Linked DNA regions of Homo sapiens: regions 1 and 2 are each linked to region 3. Evidence: promoter capture Hi-C in 16 types of primary human blood cells and fetal thymus (Javierre and others, 2016). All regions are on one chromosome and are shown on one strand. The core of a region is centred on a gene start or on the middle of the fragment in contact, and the rest is flanking DNA. Distances in the headings are between cores, read along the strand shown.

Evidence for each region. Contacts are between HindIII fragments. The CHiCAGO score rates a contact against its expected background, and 5 or more counts as called.
Region 1: a fragment that was not itself captured here is called in contact with the fragment with the promoter of TICRR in region 3 in 1 of 17 cell types (erythroblasts); the score reaches 5.6 in erythroblasts.
Region 2: a fragment that was not itself captured here is called in contact with the fragment with the promoter of TICRR in region 3 in 1 of 17 cell types (erythroblasts); the score reaches 5.2 in erythroblasts.

The regions. Positions count from the first base shown.
Region 1 is chr15:89,310,844-89,313,543 of GRCh38, reverse strand. FANCI (FA complementation group I) reads right to left here. Exons shown (of 38, transcript NM_001113378.2): 35 at 572-640. Among named protein-coding and RNA genes, the nearest start is that of MIR6766, 15 kb to the left of the region's middle. The HindIII fragment of the contact is 9,693 bases long and covers 1-2,700 here.
Region 2 is chr15:89,280,107-89,282,806 of GRCh38, reverse strand. It overlaps FANCI (FA complementation group I), which reads right to left. Exons shown (of 38, transcript NM_001113378.2): 15 at 1,507-1,637; 16 at 972-1,042. Among named protein-coding and RNA genes, the nearest start is that of FANCI, 37 kb to the right of the region's middle. The HindIII fragment of the contact is 429 bases long and covers 1,142-1,570 here.
Region 3 is chr15:89,574,213-89,576,912 of GRCh38, reverse strand. TICRR (TOPBP1 interacting checkpoint and replication regulator) reads right to left here and starts at 1,444. Exons shown (of 22, transcript NM_152259.4): 1 at 673-1,444. The coding sequence starts at 1,326. RefSeq lists an enhancer at 517-1,045 and a silencer at 1,167-1,456. The HindIII fragment of the contact is 7,754 bases long and covers 1-1,636 here.

The DNA of each region.
Region 1 (2,700 bases), core at 112-2,611, 260 kb after region 3:
CTTTTAGGGAGCACCTTTTGCATTCACCAACTTTACCTAAAAATAATTTCTCCCAATTGAGTATCGTAAGTTATTTTACTATTTCCATTTCAACTCAAGATTTTCTGGTGCTTCGTGAATAAAACATGTTTTTGGTTCAGAGGAAAAATAAGATGCTCCATCTGATCATAAAATCCCTGAGTTGAGAAGCAGCCATGTATATAATACACACAATTTTTTCTAACAGCTTGATAGAGCTGTAATTCATATACCATACAATTCACTCACAATGTACTTTTTTTTCAGTATTTGCAGAGTTGTGCAACCATCATCACAGTCAATTCTAAAACATTTTCATCACCCCCAAAAGAAATTCCATACCGTTTTTAGCTGTCACCCCAGTCTCCCCATCTTCCAACCCACCTAGCTCTACGCTACCACTAATCTAGTTTGCCTTTTTAGATGATTTATTCTGGGCACTTCATGAAAATGGAATCATACAACACGTGGTCTTTTTGTCACTGGCTTCTTCCGCTTCATGTTTTCGGGTTCACCAACAAGCATATTTTAACGGTCAGTGTCAGCAGCTTACCATGGCTGTGGCAACGGCAGCAGGTTTCTCCTTTTTCTCTCCCGTATAGTTCAGGCTCTTACTCTTATTCTAAAGAAATAGAAACACATTCTCTTATTCCTGATGATTTTTCTGTGGAGCTAGCATGCTAGTGCTAATTTTTTTTTTTTTTTTTTTAAGACAGAGCTTTGCTGTCACCCAGGCTGGTGTGCAGTGGCGTGATGTCGACCCACTGTAACCTCTGCGCCCCGAGTTAAGTGATTCTTGTGCCTCAGCCTCCCGAGTAGCTGGGACTACAGGCACGTGCCACCACACTCAGCTAATTTTTGTATTTTTAGTAGAGACGGTGTTTTGCCATGTTGGCCAGGCTGGTCTCGAACTCCTGGCCTCAGGTGATCTGCCGGCCTCAGCCTCCCAAAGTGCTGGGATTACAGGCCTAAGCCACCATGCCCACCAACTAGTGGCAATTTTCTTAGAAGGTAATTACACAGGGTATGAGGACCAAGTCTGGAGTAAACAGGACTATCTGTGCAACAGATGTTAGAAGATAGGGAAAAAATGGATGCTTTGTAATCCTCAGATATTTTTTCTTTTTTAGTTGTTGAGAGGTTTACAATCTGTTGTTCTTAGAGCTGGCACATGGAAGTTGAAGGCAGGACTATTACTGCAGTGGGTCAGCCAAGGGGCTGGTGAGGTACTAAAGAATGGTTAAAATGGGGACTGTCAAGGTGGTAGCAGGAATATTCATTTCTATTTCTATTTTAGCCAGTGGGCTAGAAGGATCCCATAAAGGAGAGGAAGCTGAGGAGGCTGCTGCAGGGCCCTGCAGTCTTCCCACTTACAGGCAATCACCAGATATATTTTATTTTCGTTACTCAGCAAAGCCAAAACCAGATATATTTTATGTGCAATGGGTTATCATGCTCAAGAAGGGTTAAAAGGGTCACAGAACACTTCCCTGTGTTGTAAATTATTGGGTAATAAAGAGCTCCTGGAGAGGGATGAATAACTAATAAAAGGAACCAAAAAGTGTAAGATTCTGATAAAGCAAAAGAAAATCAAGACTTGAGTCAGGAGAGACTGGGGAGAAAAACCACCCAAATGTAAGGTACGGTACAGAAATGTAGGCAGCTTTTTACCTCAAGGGGAGTTCTAAACCTTCTTAGGAAGGGAACATACCATGCTCCACGAGGGCAACAGAATAAAGAAACAGACCTGAAAATACAGAGAGGCTCTGCAACTGGAGCCATGAGAGAAACAGGAGACTTGTTCCACATGCCACGTTCTGGAAAATAAGGAACTGCAGACATTCCAGAGGGGCTGGTATGCAGTAATCTGTTTTTGGCCCTGGAAGGCAGGGTAGAGCATGGAAGAGGGTGAAGGCAGCAGAAGAGGGCAAGGAAGCAGTCACGGATCGACCTCACTGACCAAGTGGGAAGTGAACCATCTTCCCAGAGGTTGTGTCCAAGATGGGGCCCTGTTGGAACTCCTTAGATCAACCCTGTTCCCTGCCCATTCCAACTGATCCGGGCGGGCAGGACTAAAATTAGAGCCAGAAGAGAAGCATCTTTTTTTGAGGTGGAGTTTCACTCTGTCGCCCAGGCTGGAGTACAATGGTGCGATCTCAGCTCACTGCAACCTCTGCCTCCCAGGTTCAAGCGATTCTCCTGCCTCAGCTTCCCGAGTAGCTGGGATTACAGGCACGCACTACCATGCCCGGCTAATTTTTTTTTTTGAGACAGAGTCATGCTCTGTTGCCCAGGCTGGAGTGCAGTGGTGTGATCTCATCTCACTGCAACCTCCACCTCCCGGGTTCAAGCAATTCTCCTGCCTCAGCCTCCCGAGTAGCTGGGATTACAGGCGCCTGCCACCATGCCCAGCTAATTTTTGTATTTTTTTTAGTAGAAATGGGGTTTCACCATGTTGGCCGGGCTAGTTTCGAACTCCTGACCTTGTGATCCGCCTGCCTCAGCCTCCCAAAATGCTGAGATTACAGGTGTGAGCCACCGTGCCCTGCTATTTTTTGTATCTTTAGTTGAGACGGGATTTCACCATGTTGGCCAGGCTGGTCTCAAACTCCAGACCTTGTGATTCTCCCACCTCGGCCTCCCAAAGTGCTGGGATTACAGGCATGAGCCACCATGTCCGAC
Region 2 (2,700 bases), core at 107-2,606, 290 kb after region 3:
CCATGTTTGAAGGAGTGCTTCCCTTCATATGCTCTCTTTCATCATAGGATAATGTAATATTTGATGCCATGTAAACTGTCCATCCAGAAAATGTCACACTTGTCTTCTCACTGAGGCGCAATGATTAATTCATGTTAAAGATGTTACAACGTAATATCTCAGTCTATTCGCTATGCCTTTGGGTGAGGAGTAACAAAAACTTTTAATTCTAGAACAAAGATAATAGCATATGGCTTAGTTGTTCCTCTGGACACCCATGAATATATTATAATATGGCCAATGTGATATTAATTGGGCATCTTATCCTCAAAGTACCAAATGCTTTTCACATATTACTGTCTTATATTTTTAGGAGATGGCAAGATCATCTCTAGCTTATATACTAAGAAATAAAGGAAGAGATGTTAGGAGGGACTGGCTAAGCTACAAATAAAACTCATTCCCCTCAACAATTAATTTGATCTACTAGCCTCTAGATCATAATTCAGATGTTCACTAAAATGAGATTCTTAAGTATAATCTTCTTGACTAAGGTACTTTCCCCTTTGGAACTGCTGCCAGCTCAGGTTTCAGAGTATTTGACACTAGAACATTACCCTGAAGATTATTCTAATGTAGTAGAGCAAAGTACTTGACATCACAAGCTCTGATGTTAGACCTGACTTTGAATCCTTGCTCCACCACCAACTACTGTTTTACTTTTGGAAAGTCACTCATCTTCTCTAAGCCTAACTTTTCTTATCTGTAAAATGGGAATTGCAATAATTCTTACTTCATAGGGTTGCTCTGAAGACTAAATGAAAAAAGCACATAAAGCACTTAGCAAAATGCCTTATTTGATGAAATTGCTCTGCGGGGCTAGGAATTCTCATGATCACTGTGAACAGGTGGTACTAGGAGATGGCAGAGATAACTTTAGCTCCAACATTAGAAGACAACGTCTTCCTATGATAGAAAAAGATGCTACATACTTGGCAAACATAGCTTTCCGAAGGACAAGTATCAAGCAGTCTCTCATTGACATGCTGACTTTGAGAAGGGGCTGAAAAAGAATCAGTGGGTAAAAACAGAACAAGTTTGCTTATTAGCCTTAGGTCATTTCTACCCAATACTGTTACCATATGGCTTCTATAAGGAAGCTTACTTCTGTTTTATATACGTTTTAATGTTTATTACAGTTAACAAGGACAATAGTATACTCTGAAACACTAAAATGAAACTGGTTGCAAATGCCTCTGTAAATCTATTGTAGTCAATAATGTTCTAAGAGAGTTTTAATTATTTCATTAACTTGAAAATGAGTTGAGAGAATAGTGTTATGGATAGGAAATAAACCTGGAAAACAGTCTTGCTCAATGCTCTTGCCCTTTTAATGCAAATTTTATGTTTCAGACTAAAGTGGAATAGAATTTCTTAGACATATATATTTATACAAAAATGCATCAGACTTCCACTAGACAGTTAAACCTCAGTTTTGGCAAGTTACTTGGGAATCTGAAGACTTACCTGCACTGCCTTAAGCAGCCTTTGTACAGTCTGAAGGGGCAGAAAGGACAAATAGTCAAAAGCTTCTGTGACTTTAGAAGAACAACTTTGAAGAACTAAGGGTGCATACATGACGATATTTGAAAGCAGGTCTGAAAAACAGAATCTATAATCAGTTGTCTCAAATAACTAAAGATAACTGAAATAAAAGAAAAATACGGAGAAAGAAATGTGAAGTCTTTTGTTTCCTTTCTCAAATAAGTCAAGTATACTGCAATACAAATTTCTACTGATTCTATATATACTTTTTCTCCAATGTAACCAGGATAATTTTAGCTTTTTTCTATGATAGTTTCAATTTCTATAAAAATTAAACTGCCTAAAAGAAAGGAAGAAACCGATTACACTGCCTAGACATAAGTAGTAGCACACATCTTCTTACTTCTAAGCTAAAATAAATCAATAAATATTTCTGAATTTTTACTATGCACAAGCGTAATATGGTCCTATTAGGAACATAAAAGTATAAAACATAGTCTTTCTTCAAAAATTTTAATAATTTAGTTGGAAGTAAAAAAATTTTTTTAAAGAATTAAAGAGGTAAATCACAGAGCAATATCAAATATCTATTAATTCCAAACATAGTTTATTGCCTACCAAATGGTAAAGGGAGAGTTTAAATAGGAGTTCAAAGGAAGAAGAGCTCATTATGAGTTGGTATATATTAGGAAAGCAATGAGGAGAAGGAACTTAAACTAGGTTCTAAAAGATGGGGAACATTTAAATGCACAAAGCACCAGAAAGGCCTACATATATAAAGGGAAAAGTATGAGTAAAGGTATGAGAAAGGTAAGTTTAAGACATATTCAGAAGATGGTAGGGAAATCAATGATGCTGGGGTGAAGAATCCAGGAAAGTAAATAACTGACTTTAACAATGGAAAGGTAGGGTGGGATCAACTTGTCAAGCACCTTCAGTGCCAGGATAAAGAGCTGACAATTTGGCCAGGTGTGGTGGCTCACGCCTGTAATCCCAGCACTTTGGAAGCCTGAGGCAGGTGGATCACGAGGTCAAGAGATTGAGACCATCCTGGCCAACATGGTGAAACACCATCCCTACTAAAAATACAAAAATTAGCTGGGTGTGGTGGCACGTGCCTGCAGTCCCAGCTACTCTCAAGGCTGAGGCAGGAGAATTGCTTGAACCCGGGAGGCG
Region 3 (2,700 bases), core at 195-2,694:
ATAAATATATATATGTATATAAATAAATGTGTATATATATGTGTGTGTGTGTATATATATATATATATATATATATATATATATATATATACACACACACATACACACACACCCCTGGGTATTGTGTTAAAACCTGCTGCTTGCCTCTGAGGTATTTTTAGACTAGATGGAGGGTGAGAGATGTGCATAATCAAAACATATGGAGAAATGGTTAAGTGCCACACAAAATGTGTATGGCAATTCAGACGCTGGACTGAGCAGTTGTCACTGGGAGAAGAAGCCTTAAAGGGTAAGTGAAGTTAAGACTGGCCTGGAAGAGTGAGAACTGGCATTCCAGGCAGATTGAACAACACACATAACACAAAACAAGCAGTCCAGACCTGTTGATTTTCTGGACTGGACTTCAATATGCTAGAGTAGATGTAGTGTGTAGGAAAATCAAGTCTGGGAAGGCAGGTAGGGCCCAAATTGTGAGGGGTCTTAAACAGTAGGTAGTGAGGAACTACCCATTTTGTTGTGAAAACTGTTCCTATTTATTTGTTTCCTTCCGAAGGGACGCATAGTCATATTAGTCTCATTCGGGGTCTGTGGCTGTTCTAAGGACGCTGCCAAGTTCTGGTTAGCAAGGAAAGCACCGTGCACGCCATCTGAGACGACAGTAACCTTCCTTACCTTAGACCATTCGGTGGTATCCACCCAGTAGAAGGTGATTTTTCGGGCGACCATGACTTCCCGGACTCTCTTGGGCAACAACTTCTCCATCACCTGCTTAGGGGTGGGCGGCAGGCGCTGGGCCTGGGCCTCGCACCCAGACACGAACTGCAGCAGCTCCCTCTGCGAGTGCGGACAGGGGGCCAGGAGGAAGACGGCGTTCACCAAGCCCCCGAGCGCGGCCTCGGCCTCCTTGGCCTCGCTCTCCACGTCCAGCAGTCTCCTCCCGCTGCTCCGCAGGATCGGCTTCGTGGGCGACGTGATCTCGGGCCGGTCCCACTGGTAGTCTAGCAGCGTCTCCATCAGGGCGCCGTGCGTGTGGGTGGCCCTGGGCGCCGGGCCGGGCAGGTGGGCGCGATCCTCGAGCCTGGCCTCCAGCTCCTCCTCAAAGTCCTCCCACGAGCGGGACCCCAGCTCGCGGAAGTCAGACACGCGGGACGGCCGGCTCCGCGCCCCCTGCGAGTCAAAGAACTTGAAGGCCCAGTGGACCCTGGCCAGGCCGAATCGGCAACTCAGATAGGTGAGGAGGCGCAGGGCGGCCCGCCGGACCCGGCTGTGGCGGGCGGCGCCGCCCGCGGTGTCCAGCAGCAGCATTACTTTGTGACAGCATGCCATATCGGCCGTGCCGCCGCCCCGGGGCCCCGGTCCGGGCCCGCGCCACCGTCCCTTAGTCCCTTCCTTCAGGGAAACAGCACCACTCACTGCTTTCCTTTGGGACCCTGGTCGAAAGGCTCCCGCGCTCTCCAGGAACTGCTGCTATTGGGGGAGCTAGTTTCCAAGGTTTGCTCCTATTGGCTGCTTGCCTTACGTAAGTTACGAGAGCAACTTCCATTTTTGGCGGTGATTGGAGGGGCAGTGGAGAAAACTTCAGTCTGATTGGTGGAGGGAGTGACGGTGGGCGGGTCTCTGTGGTCCGAGAGAAGCTTAGCATTCATTGGCCTGGGCCTTCGTTTTAAATTTTAAAGAGGTGGTGCCTCGGGGGCGTGTCGAGAAGTTTCGCCATTGGAAAGAGGCCAGCGTTTGTGCGCAGTCGTGAGTGCGGACTGCGGGGCCACGTTTCCCAAGACCGAGGAAAACTTAGTGCCGGGAGGGAATTTGGGATGGTTTGAATCGAACTTGTTGAAATCCCTGTGGACCGCCTAGGAAGTAGAATCTGACGACTACGGCTTTTTCTGTAATTTAAAAAATTTTATTAAAAATTAAAGGTTCACTCCCTTTGCCCCAGTAACTTCTAGGAGTTTATCTGCAGAAGGTAATCGGAGAGCCAGATAAAAGACGTCTGTACATCTTAGAGTTTATTTAACATCAGAAAAAATGGAAACAGTTTGGGAATGGTTAAATAAGGTATGGTACACGCCCAAGGGGAGCATCGTGCAGCTCCTTTTTTTTTTTTTTTTTTTTTTTTTTTTTTTTTGAAACGGAGTCTCGCTCTGTCTCCTAGGCTGGAGTGCATTGACACGATCTTGGCTCACTGCAACCTCCACCTCCCGGGTTCAAGCGATCCTCCTGCCTCAGCCTCCTGAATAGGACTACAGGCGCACGCCACCACCCCAGACTAATTTTTGTATTTTTAGTAAAGACGGAGTTTCACCATGTTGGCCAGGCTGGTCTCAAACTCCTGACCTTGTGATCCACCCGACTTGGCCTCCCAAAGTGCTGGGATTACAGGCGTGAGCCACCAAGCCCGGCCTAGTGCAGCTTCTTAAAATAGTGTTTTATTATGTAATGTTAGGTTTTAAAAGTGGACTGCAAGCAGCACCTGCAGTGAATTCCCTAAATTTTCTATCTACATGTATATATAGATAGAAATCACATGTAGATTTGCATTACAGATAGAAATTATATATCGCTATATAGATAGAATACATAGAATTATATATAGATAGGCCGGGCACGGTGGCTCACGCCTGTAATCCCAGCACTTTGGGAGGCCGAGGCGGGCGAATCACCAGGTCAGGAGATCGAGACCATCCTGGCTAACACAGTGAA